Regions from separate parts of the Homo sapiens genome. Here region 1 is linked to region 2. Evidence: promoter capture Hi-C in 16 types of primary human blood cells and fetal thymus (Javierre and others, 2016). All regions are on one chromosome and are shown on one strand. The core of a region is centred on a gene start or on the middle of the fragment in contact, and the rest is flanking DNA. Distances in the headings are between cores, read along the strand shown.

The links. The method cuts DNA at HindIII sites, captures the fragments that hold promoters and counts their contacts. A CHiCAGO score of 5 or more calls a contact.
Region 1: a contact is called between a fragment that was not itself captured here and the fragment with the promoter of HDDC3 in region 2, in 1 of 17 cell types (naive CD8 T cells). The highest score is 5.0, in naive CD8 T cells.

The regions. Positions count from the first base shown.
Region 1 is chr15:90,381,140-90,387,076 of GRCh38, reverse strand. It overlaps the pseudogene NDUFA3P4. Among named protein-coding and RNA genes, the nearest start is that of IQGAP1, 4.1 kb to the left of the region's middle. The HindIII fragment of the contact is 1,603 bases long and covers 2,820-4,422 here.
Region 2 is chr15:90,928,718-90,934,767 of GRCh38, reverse strand. HDDC3 (HD domain containing 3) reads left to right here and starts at 2,219. Exons shown (of 4, transcript NM_001286451.2): 1 at 2,219-2,339; 2 at 2,658-2,713; 3 at 2,824-3,064; 4 at 3,363-4,800. The coding sequence starts at 2,228. The coding sequence ends at 3,493. It also overlaps a transcript of UNC45A not described here. RefSeq lists enhancers at 298-397, 2,022-2,071, 2,822-3,051, 4,682-4,911. The HindIII fragment of the contact is 1,585 bases long and covers 862-2,446 here.

The DNA.
Region 1 (5,937 bases), core at 2,372-4,871, 550 kb after region 2:
CCCGGGTTCAAGCGACTCTCCCGCCTCAGCCTCCCAAGTAGCTGGGATTATAGGTGCCCGCCACCACGCCCAACTACTTTTTTTGTATTTTTAGTAGAGGCAGGGTTTCACCATGTTGATCAGGCTGGTCTCGAACTCCTGACCTCAGGTAATCCACCCGCTTCTGCTTCCCAAAGTGCTGAGATTACAGGTGTGAGCCACCGCGCCCGGCCCTCTTCCGTTTATTCTTTGCCTACTCAGTAATCTTTTCTACACTCGCCTATAACTGCTGAGGACCCCTCGATATGTATCACCAGACCAGATCGTCTGGAAGTCCCTCAGTATTTTCAGCTAATGAACACTTTCACCTGTGTATAGGGCAGACACTTCAAATCCCACGTGTCAAATACTGACCCTGCTCCTGCTATATTCTCTATTCACAGAAGTACTCAATTCCCAGTGGGAACACCCCAGGCTCCTTGCCTCGCACCCTACATCCAATCTGTGTTTATTTCTGAGATGTCTACTTTTGTCTCCATCCCTGTTGTGATTACACTGTAGTCGCCCTTCTGCCAACTAGATCCTCACAGTTATCAGGGTGTTCTCTCTAAAGTGCAAATGCAATTGTGTTTCTCTTTTTAAATTTTTTTTTCTATTCCTCCCTTCAAGATAATGGGCCAAGTTCAGCATGATTTAGCATGCCAAATCATAGCCTGACTCCAGATGTTTTGCTCCAGCTATTTTCAATGTATTCACTCTTCCTTCAGACTATTAAAGATACTTGAAAACCTGTAAGAACAAAACACCCCTGTAGAAAAGTGGGCAAGGGTTTCATTTATTAAGCCTACAAAGTAAAAAGTTATTTCATTCTTAAGCTTTTAAGTTCACTTTACAAATTGTATTATTCTATTTATAAGTCTAGCACATTTTACCAAACACTTTTCAGAAACTGAATGATTTATTTATTTCGGAGGCGGGGGGGTCACATTTTTATTGGGGGCCACAGGGGACATGGTCTTCTCCATGTCAATGGAAGTGCTTGCAGTTTCTTCAACCACTCCATGCTTGGGCCTTGGGGGTGGCTGGGCATGTCCAGCATGTTCCCATCATCTCGGAGGGGCACTGGGTTGTTGTGGGGCGTGGCCTAGTTGATCCTGGTGGAGTACATGGTATAGGGGCAGACTGGGGTCAGATTTATAGCTAGGCCCCCGATGGTGAGGAACAGGACCAGCACCCGCTCCTTAGGCCAGGCATTCTTGAGAAAGGCAGCCGCAATGGCAACGAGGACATAGAGCATTCTGAAATTTCCTGAAAATTTTTTTTTAAGTCTCACTCAGTTAATTCAACATCTTCAAATATTTAAAATTATGCCTACTAGGGCAGGCACAGTGGCTCACACCTGTAATCCGAGCACTTTGGGAGGTCAAGGTGGGTGGATCACCTTAGGTCAGGAGTTCGAGAGCAGCCTGGCCAACATGGTGAAACCCCCGTCTCTACTAAAATACAAAAAAATTAGCTTAGTATGGTGACACACGCCTGTAGTCCCAGCTACTCGGGAGGCTAAGGCAGGAGAATCACTTGAACCCAGGAGGCAGAGGTTGCAGTGAGCCGAGATTGTGCTCCTGCAATCCAGCCTGGTTGACGGAGCGAGACTGTCTTTTAAAAAATAATAATAATTGCCGGGCACGGTGGCTCACGCCTGTAATCCTAGCACTTTCGGAGGCCGAGGTGGGCGAATCACGAGGTCAGGATATTGAGACCATCCAGGCTAACACGGTGAAACCCCAGCTCTATTAAAAACACAAAAAAAAAAAAAATTAGCCGGGCATGGTGGCGGGCACCTGTATTCCAGCTACTCGGGAGGCTGAGGCAGGAGAATGGCGTGAACCCTGGAGGCGGAGCTTGCAGTGAGCCAAGATCATGCCTCTGCACTCTAGCCTAGGCAATAGAGCGAGACTCCATCTCAAAAAAATAAATAAATAAAAATAAAAAATAATAATAAAGAATAAATTGTGCCTATTATATTGTCTATATTAGATTTCCTATTACATTTTCTTTTTTTTTTTCTTTTGAGATGGAGTTTCACTCTTGTCACCCAGGCTGGAGTGCAATGGTGCAATCTCAGCTCACTGCAACCTCCGCCTCCCGGGTTCAAGGGATTCTTCTGCCTCAGCCTCCCAAGTGGCTGGAATTACAGGCACCCGCCACCACACCTGGCTAATTTTATATATATATATATTTTTTTATTAGAGATGGGGTTTCACTATATTGGCCAGGCTGGTCTCAAACTCCTGACCTTGTGATCCACTGGCCTCGGCCTCCCAAAGTGCTAAGATTACAGGCATGAGCCACCGCACCTGGCCTAGATTTTCTTTTTAGTTCATTCAATCGTATAAAACTTTTTCAAAACTTTTTTTTTTTTTTGAGACGGAGTCTCACTCTGTCGCACAGGCTGGAGTGTAATGGCACAATCTTGGCTCATTGCAACCTCTGCCTCCTGGGCTCAAGCGATTCTCCTGCCTCAGCCTCCTGAGTAGCTGGGATTACAGGCACGCACCACCGCGCCCAGCTAATTTTTGTATTTTTAGTAGAGACGGGATTTCACCATGTTGCCCAGGCTGGTCTTGAACTCCTGACCTCAGGTGATCCACCCACCTCTGCCTCCCAAACTGCTTGGATTACAGGCGTGAACCACTGTGCCCGGCCTAGATTTTCTTTTTAATTCATTCAATTGTTTAAAACTTTTTCAAAACTTAGTAATTCCTATAAATAAACATACAAGCATAACAAAGCTAACATTCTCTTAGATGGCCTGATTCCATGTGTAAACTTAGTAAGCTTTCAACTCAAAAACCTAAGTCTAAAACTAACTCAATTACACATTTAAAATGATTTACAAAAAAGCTGTCATTCAAGTCGGCCAAATTTTCTTAAACATTGCGAATACATAAAATGTGAAATATTTCTTCTTCTTCTTCTTTTTTTTTTTTTTTTTTTGAGACAGAGTTTCACTCTGTCACCCAGGCTGGAGTGCAGTGGCGTGATTTCGGCTCACTGCAACCTCAGCCTCCCAAGTTCAAGTGATTATCCTGCCTCAGCCTCCTGAGTAGCTGGGCTTACAGGCGCACACGACCACACCCGGCTAATTTTTGTATTTTTACTGGAGGTGAGGTTTTGCCATGTTGGCCAGGCTGGTCTCGAACTCTTGACCTCAAGTGATCTGCCCACCTTGGCCTCCCAATGTGCTGGGGTTATAGGCATGAGCCACCATGCCCAGCCGAAATATTTCTTCTTAACTCCAACATATTAATCCAATTGTTCATTCCATAAAGGCTTTCTTTACTTAATTACAAAGTTTGTCTGAGGTGAAAGCCACAGAGATGTTAAGTTACCAACTGCACTGGTACCTTACTATACTAAGTGTTGCACATTTATTTTCTCAGCTGATCCTTGTAATAATCCCATTATGTCCATTTTACACTTGGGAAAATGGAGAACTGGGTTACTTACCTGAAGCCACACAGCAAGAGGCAGAGCTGGAACTCAAACCCAGGCCTGTCTAATGACAAAGCCCAATTCCTAGTCAATAAACTCAAGATTCAGAGAAATAGACATTAAGATAATAACATGCTGGCCAGGCACAACGGCTCACACCTATACCCCCCAGCACTTTGGGAAGCAGAGGAGAGAGGATTGCTTGAGGCCAGGAGTTCAAGACCAGCCTGGGCAAAATGAAAAACCCCGTCTCTACAGAAAATACAAAAAATTAGCCCAGCGTGGTGGCATGCTACCCAAAAGGCTGAGGTGGGAGGATCGCTTGAGCCTGGGAGTTGAGGCTGCAGTGAGCTGTGATCCCGCCACTGTGCTCCTGCCCAGGTAGACAGAGTGAGACCCATCACCAAAAAAAAAAAAAATAGAAAAGATAACATGCCACATATCACTTCTTGCCTATCATATGTAGCAACATTTTGGTTTGTCTTTTTAATTGATATTATTGGCAAGGGGGTGAAAAAGCAACCACTCTTATGCAATGTTAGTAGGCAATAAATTAATATAGTCTTTCTAAAGACCAGCTTATCATTATGCATCTATTCTTCAACCAAAAAACTTCACTTCTTGGAATGTATCATAAGGATATCGTGCTTTTATTAAATGTGCAAAAGTTATCCATGAAGATGCTCCTTGGAAATTACTCAAATGTCCATCAGTAGGTGTTTAAATCAGTGATGGCAGCTATACACAATAGAATGCCATATAGCCATGAACAGTGATGATCTGTGGTCTGGTCAGGCTTGACTGGCTACAGGAAACAGACATGCACAGTTTTACTTCTAGAGGAAAAAAGGCTGGAAGGGAGGCCTTTCTTATACAGACCTATATGGACTGGAACTGCACCAAAAACAAAACTACACTAAACAAAAAAAAACAGGACTAATGAAAGCTTGAAGTCATGGTTTCATTCTCTGGGCATCTCTGCTTTTCCACAGGCTGGCTCTACTCTCCACTCTTTGCTAACCAGCTTACTCCATTTAATTTTTTCTGTTCCCTCACAACTCTTGTTTCTGCTTGCCTTGCCATGGCTTTGACTGAAGGTCATGGTATCCTTACATCATCAGCTCCATTGAGGATCATCTCAATTGCCTAACTCCATAACCCATAGAGTGGCATATGATTGACCCAGCTCAGCTTTCCACCCTGTGGGTAAATCTCTGACCACCCACAGGCAGGCTGCCCTTAGATTGGATGCTGATCCTTTACTTCAATCAACTATGATCAGGAGATACAGATAATTAAGCATAGAGAACTATGAGCTGGGCATAATTTCCTTCAGTGGGAGGCTGGGCAGGCAAAAAATGTACAGGCTGGCAGTACAATATTTTAATATTGTGGTTAAGTTAATATATCAAATTATGACTAATAAATATGATACCATTTTGTTTTAAATGTAGCTAGATAGATAGATACATTGATGGATATGTGCATATGAATAGATAAAGCCTTGAAGTATATACACCAATATATTAACAGTGGCTTCTCCAGGCAGTGCTATTACACTGGATTTGTGTGGGGTTTGCTTGCTTGCTTGTCTGTATTTAAAATGAGCTGCTGGAAATACTATTTTGTCAGCAAATATAAATATGAATAAAATTAGTAAATATGAAATGAATAAACGGCAAAATAATGAGGTAAATGGTCATTTTGGGAGTCAAAATTGGTTAATGACCACAAAGAATTTACAAGCCAGGAGGAGTCAAGCAATATTAACAGGATATCTTGAGATAAGCACCATAATAGAAGTTTCCCTTGCTTGGAATACCTTTTAGCCTATTATCTGCCTGGGAAACTCCTACTGAACCTCCCAGACCCAATTCAAATGTCACCTACTCCCCAGGCAAAATTAATCACTTCCTCATTTATTATATTTCCCAGTAGTACTTTTAGAAACCAGGTATCTTCAGAAATAAGTCTTACTGTCTAGTAAGTACAACATTTTCAAGAAATAAGTCCCAATTTTTTTTATATTTAAATGCCTCTGAAATCAGGATAGGTCTTACAATCAGTGTTAAGAGAAACTAGCCAGCTACCAGGAGAAAAGTAGATGGAGAAGTAACACAATTGTTGACATAGTTTGGATATTGGTCCCCATCCAAATCTCATGTTGAACTATAATCCCCAGTGTTGGAGATGGGGCCTGGTGGGAGGTGATTGGATCATGGGGGCGGTTTTCTCTTGAATGGTTTAGCACCATTCCCTTGCTGCTGTTCTTGTGATAGGGAGTGAGTTTTCATGAGATCTGGTCATTTAAGAGTGTGTGGCACTCTGTCTCTCACTCTTGATTTCACCATGTGATGCGCCTCCTCCCCATTCACCTTCCACCATGATTGGAAGCTTCCTGAGGCCTCCCCAGAAGCAGATGCCACTATGCTTCCTGTACAGTCTTCAGAACCGTGAGCCAAT
Region 2 (6,050 bases), core at 970-3,469:
CCATGGGCAGATTCAGGATGGCTCCCCATTACCAGCTTGCACAGCCCCCTGAACTTCTCCTTTGTAATTGTAATCATGATCTACATGATTTTCTGTTGCGGTCTGTCCCTTCACTAGTCTGTAAGTTACAAGCCTACCACCCCATAATTTAGGAACAGAGCCCCAGATACTGGAACACCCTGTCGATGTTCCAGTGGCTCTGGGGTTGGAGATCTCACCTGAGGATGGGCGGGGGCGGAAGAGCGGACAGATTGACTTGGTACAGGGCCTCAAATTCAGCCCGGGTGCAGCAGGAGCCCCCTGCAGCCTGCAGGTGGCAGCAGTAGGCTTCCTCTGGAGAATCAGACAGACGAGGGCAAAAGAAACCAGGGTAGTGACGGCCATGGACATCCCGGGTGGTCTGGCACAAGTGAGGGTGGTGGACCAGAGCTGAAGAGAGAGGTGGGGGTGCTAGAGACAAGCAGGAGGGGCCTTTCCACAGCTCACTCCACCCCTACTGGAGAGTAAAAGAGATCAGCCCCTACCAGAAGAAAAGATGCCCTTCCACCCATCCCCATCAGTTCCAGTTCCCAGGAATAGCCCATAGCACCAGAGGCAGGTGGGCCACAGGGGTAAGTGCTGTACCTGAGAGAGAGGTTGGCTGGACAAGGGTCACCCAGCTGAAGAGCAGCAGTAGCCCCACAGATAGGCCTGTCAGCAAGGGGCCTGACCTTCTCTGGATGCCCATGAGAGTTCACTACCACCTCTGTCCTGGTCCTGGGAACCCCAACATCTCTCTTTCTAGGCCGTGACTGCAGACAATAAGGAAATAAAAGTCAAAGCCCCAAGGCCCTTGGGCACCATTAATACGAGCCTGAAGCTTCTCTATCACAGGCTTTTAGAGAGAGATGACAGGGACTGGGTTTCTGTCTCCTGTTGGAAAACGTGGGGCCTGCATTGCCAAACTGCTGAAGGAGAGAAGGCTCAAAGGACTAGAGGACAGAATGAGGGATGAGAGAGCAGCTGAGCCATTAGTATGAAGAACAAACAAGCATTTACAGCCAAATATGTTTCTACCCATTCTCCAACTTCCAGGCTGCCATGGAAGCTCTGGGAATTCTGACCCTCCTATTTCAGGTCCCAGAGACCTCAGTTCCAGCATGTGGGGCTTCCCTCCCTAACCTCTGCTACGTGGCAACCACCAAGACTAGCTGAAAACCAAGGGTGACTCCTTTCATTAGCCTTTCCCCTGAGCCTTATCTGCCCCAGCTACCAGCCAGAACACAAAAGCTACATGTCTGATTAGAGTATACTTAGCTAATAGGGAACCCCCTCTCACAGAGAAGTTCTATGGGGATCACCAGGTCTCTCTTACCCCTCAGCTGCCCCTAAGGCAGGGAATTTCTCCAGAAGGCCACCAGCCAGCAGAATTAAGTGTTATTCCAGTGCCTACCCAGGCCTGACAACATCATGCTCCCAGGACAGCAGTGACAACACTCATCACCCCAGGGGCCCACAGAAGATGCCTAGAGACTGAAATAGGAGCTCTCATAGCATAAGAAGACAAGGCAAATTTCATCTGCAACACTGAGGACAAACAAAGGCAGTTCCTGCAGAAACGTCACAGCTACCTGGGAGCCTAAGTCTGAAGCAATTAGGCAGGGCTCCCAGGGAAGGCTCTGATTTTTCAGGTCAGGCCCTAGGGTCTCCTGGAGGGTCCAAAGGTAGACTCCCCTGCCCACAGAACCTGGCCCATCCCTACAGGGAGAACTATTTTTAGAACACTTGGAGAATTTTCAGAGCTTTTACAGGTTGAAGATGGTTCTTGGGGGGAGCTTCTGGGAGAAGCTGTCTCTGACTCTGAGGGTGTGGGGATTGTTCTTTCTTCCCGCTCCCATAGTCCCCTGAGCCTTGGCCACCCTGGATTCAGAGCACTGTGAGGCCACTGCCTTATTTCTTGTCTGTCTTCCTCTTTTCCACAGACTGTGGGCTCCCAAAGAGCCAGGCTTATGTTCTTCTTGCACCCCCAACAGAGCACACTGAGCTGGGGGCTGCGATGCTGAAGGCAGCTGTCCACATCACTTGCTCTCTGCGCGGGCCGGTCAGCTCCAGAGGAATTCATCTGGGGCAGGCCCAACTCGGCCCGCTGAATTAGCCTCCACGATCCCCGGGCCTCCCCGGCGCCAGGGGGCGCTGTAAACGTTCCGTCCCTGCCCCTGCGGCCGCAGTCGTCGGCCCCATCCGCGCGATGGGCTCTGAGGCGGCGCAGCTGCTGGAGGCTGCCGACTTCGCGGCTCGCAAGCACCGGCAGCAGCGGCGGAAGGACCCCGAGGGGACCCCCTACATCAACCACCCCATCGGTGGGCGCGTCGGCCGCGGAGCGCCGGCTGCGGCACCTGGGTGGTGGGGACTGGGAAGGAAACGTGGGGGGCGTGCACCTCATTGAGCACCTGTTTTGTCCCAAGCTTAGTGCGATATACCGTTTAAGCCTCATAACAATTGGAACGGTAGGCATGATCGTTCCCTTTGTCGGTTGGCTCCCAGAGGGTAAGGTACTTGACCAAGGTCACCCAGCTAGTCAGAGTCCACAAGGGGCCACATCTGGCTCTCCAAAACCCACAACACACCGCCTTGGGACTACCTCCGACCTGACTTCCTGCTTTGCCCCTCCCCGTCAGGTGTGGCACGGATCCTGACCCACGAGGCGGGAATCACTGACATTGTGGTGTTACAGGTAACTTTCCCCCTTCTCTGCCAGGAGCCTGGGATGGGGATTAGGGGCCCCATTCAGCAATGGGCAACCCTTGGCTGACATCTCAGGGCTGAGTGGGAACTTGTCCCCAGGCGGCCCTGCTCCATGACACGGTGGAGGACACAGACACCACCCTGGATGAGGTGGAGCTACACTTTGGGGCACAAGTGCGGCGCCTGGTGGAGGAGGTAACAGATGACAAGACTCTGCCCAAGCTGGAGAGAAAGAGGCTGCAGGTGGAGCAAGCGCCCCACAGTAGCCCCGGGGCCAAACTGGTGAAGCTGGCAGACAAGCTGTACAATCTGAGGGACCTGAATCGCTGCACCCCAGAGGGTACGCTTTCGTATGGGCTGTAAGGGAAAAGGGAGGGGGATGCCGCCTTCTGAAGACACATGTTGGTCAGTTCCCCTGAAAAACCCTGGGCATTCTTAATTCCCAAATTAATCCTACTGGACCACTCTTTGATCTTCTTTCATACAGTAAAAATACAATAGCTGGGCCAAGGGGAAGTTTTCAGGACAGCTCATTCCATCAGGAACTCATGGCCTTGAACCAAGCTTGCCAGGAAGTGGGGAAAAGGCAGTGCTTTCCTTGACATCACGCTAGCAAGTTTCTGTCGACTCTTATGCAGGATGGTCAGAACATCGAGTCCAGGAATACTTCGAGTGGGCAGCGCAGGTGGTGAAGGGGCTTCAGGGAACAAACCGGCAACTGGAAGAGGCTCTAAAGCATCTGTTCAAGCAGCGGGGGCTGACAATCTGATCAGTGCTTGAAGCTATCCAGAGGCACAACTCCAGCCTCGTTCAGGCCGGACAGGATTCATACGCCATCTTTTCTGTGTCTCCTGAGCTCCCTCCATCCTTCCCAGATATTAGAGGCCAAAAAAAGACTTGCATTTTTTCTCAGTCTGAAGGTCTCCTGCTAACTAAGCTGAGCCCCGCGTGGTGGGAATCAGATGTACCCATCCATTTCTGATGCACTCACCGCCTCTCCCCAAGTCTTGGGTCTGTTTGCTATTTTGCATGGTGGGATCTCTGGCCCCTCAGGGACTTGAGATTATTTAAGTACTAGTTCCTAACACGTTCTGGAAAATAAAAATAACTCTGGGTTAAGGTTTAAGCTGCTGCTGCTCCTTCTCCAGCCTCCGACTGGTGGGCTGCATATCTTTCCTTCAGCAAAGCAGGACTAATTGTGTGTCCCGGAGTCACCTCCCTCAGGTTGCGGGCCTCAACCCCTCCGAACCTGGCTTCCTTGTCAGTGACATGGGTTGTGTAATTATCAGGTTAGACTGTGACGTGCCTGATGGAGCCTGACACATAGGTGCTCAAGAAATGGTAGCAGCCTTTCCCGTTAAGAAAGTTGGAAGGGGGCCAGGCGCGGTGTCTCTCGCCTGTAATCCCAGCACTCTGGGAGACCGAGGCGGGCGGATCACTTGAGGTCAGGAGTTCAAGACCAGCCTGGCCAGCATGGCGAGGCCCCGTCTCTACTAAAAATACAAAAAAAAATTAGCCGGGCGCAGTGGCTCGCGCCTGTAATCCCAGCTACTCAGGAGGCTGAGGCAGGAGACTCGCTTGAACCCGGGAGGCGGAGTTTGTACTGAGCCGAGATCGCGCCACTGCACTCCAGCTTGGGTGACACAGCGAGACTCCGTCTCAAAAATGAAAAAAGAAAAGACGTATCGGAAGGGAGTGCCGCCCGCTTACTGACAACCACTGCTGGGCACCGGAGAGACCCCAGCAGCAACATGATTGGGCCGGTGGGGGATTCCGGTTCCCCAGTACCTCAAGCCGCGCGGGAAACTCGGTGACTCGCAATCCCCTCGCCCTTCCGCATTGCGGGTTACTTCGGTTGTTAAGTGACAGGGACTTCCGGGAAGGCCCGGAAGTGGCCCGGGGCTGTCCGACCCCGGGAGCCCGGCGGTCGGCGTAGGGGAGGCGGTGGAACTTTGCTCGGTGGCCATGGGGAGGGATTGCCCGGTGGTGGTTTTTCAGTCGTTGCTGAGCAGCTGAGGTTTATTTTTATGTATTTTATTCTGCATCCAGTCATCCATTAAAGCCAAAGTTTATTAAGTTGTCTGGAAAAGCGATCATCTTGGGTACGAGGAAATTGTTAGGTCAAAGCTGTTCGACTACGATAGTTGTTTGCCCAAGTGAAGGCCCCAGCGGAGGGCTCTGCGAAAAAGTAGGTGAAAGGCAACCAAAAAAGCCGAATTAAAAGAAAACAAATGAACAAAGTTCAGAGTAATCCCCAGGGTATGGTACATTTTGGAGAACTTTGAACTTAATTTTTTTAAATAGTTTTGCGGGAGTAAGATAACGAGATTTTTTTAAGAAAAGATGACTTTGTTGTAGTCCACTTTATATATTTTGTTGCCTGTGTTTTTAGTGTCATATCTAAGAAATCGTTGCCAAATCTAATGCCATGAAGCTTTTCCTGTTTTCTTCTAGGAGCTTTCGTTTTAGCTTTTTTTTTTGAGACGGAGTTTCACTCTTGTTGCCCAGGCTGGAGTGCAATGGTGCCATCTCTGCTCACCATAACCTCCGCTTCCCGGGTTCAAGCTATTCTCCTGCCTCAGTCTCCCGAGTAGCTGGGATAACAGGCGTGCGCCACCACGCATGGCTAATTGTTGTATTTTTAGTAGTGACGGGATTTATCCTTGCTGCCCAGGCTGGTCTTTAACTCCTGACTTCAGGTGATCCACCCGCCTTGGCCTCCCAAAGTTATCGTTTTAGCTCTTACAAGTAAAGTTTTTGATCCATTTTGGGTTAAATTTCTTTTTAAATCAATTTAATTTGGTATAAGGTATACATGATGTTATGAGGCTACATACAGGTAGTAAAAAGGTTACTATAGTGAAGCAAATTAACACATCCATCATTTCACGTAGTTACCCAATTTTTTGTTGTTTTTGTGGCAAGAACATTTTGGGTTAATTTTTGTATATGGTGTAATTTTTTTGTATATACACCATATACAAAATATATGATGTATGGTTTTGCTTGTGGATGTCCAGTTTTCCTAGCACCATTTGATGCAAGGTCTGTCCTCTTAGTACCTGTTTTTGGATTTTTTTATTTTTTATTTTTTAGTAGAGATGGCGTTCCACTAAGTTGGCCACACTGGTCTCGAACTCCTGACCTCAGGTGATCTGCCCACCTCAGCCTCCCAAAGTGCTGGGATTACAGGCGTGAGCCACTGTGCCCAGCCTTGAATAACTCTTCACAATATTGCTTTCTAGAATTTTAGTTCCTGCCTCTTTTTAAACTATAAACTAGTATTACATTTATAGCCAGTATTTAGGTGTACCCTCCCTCTCATT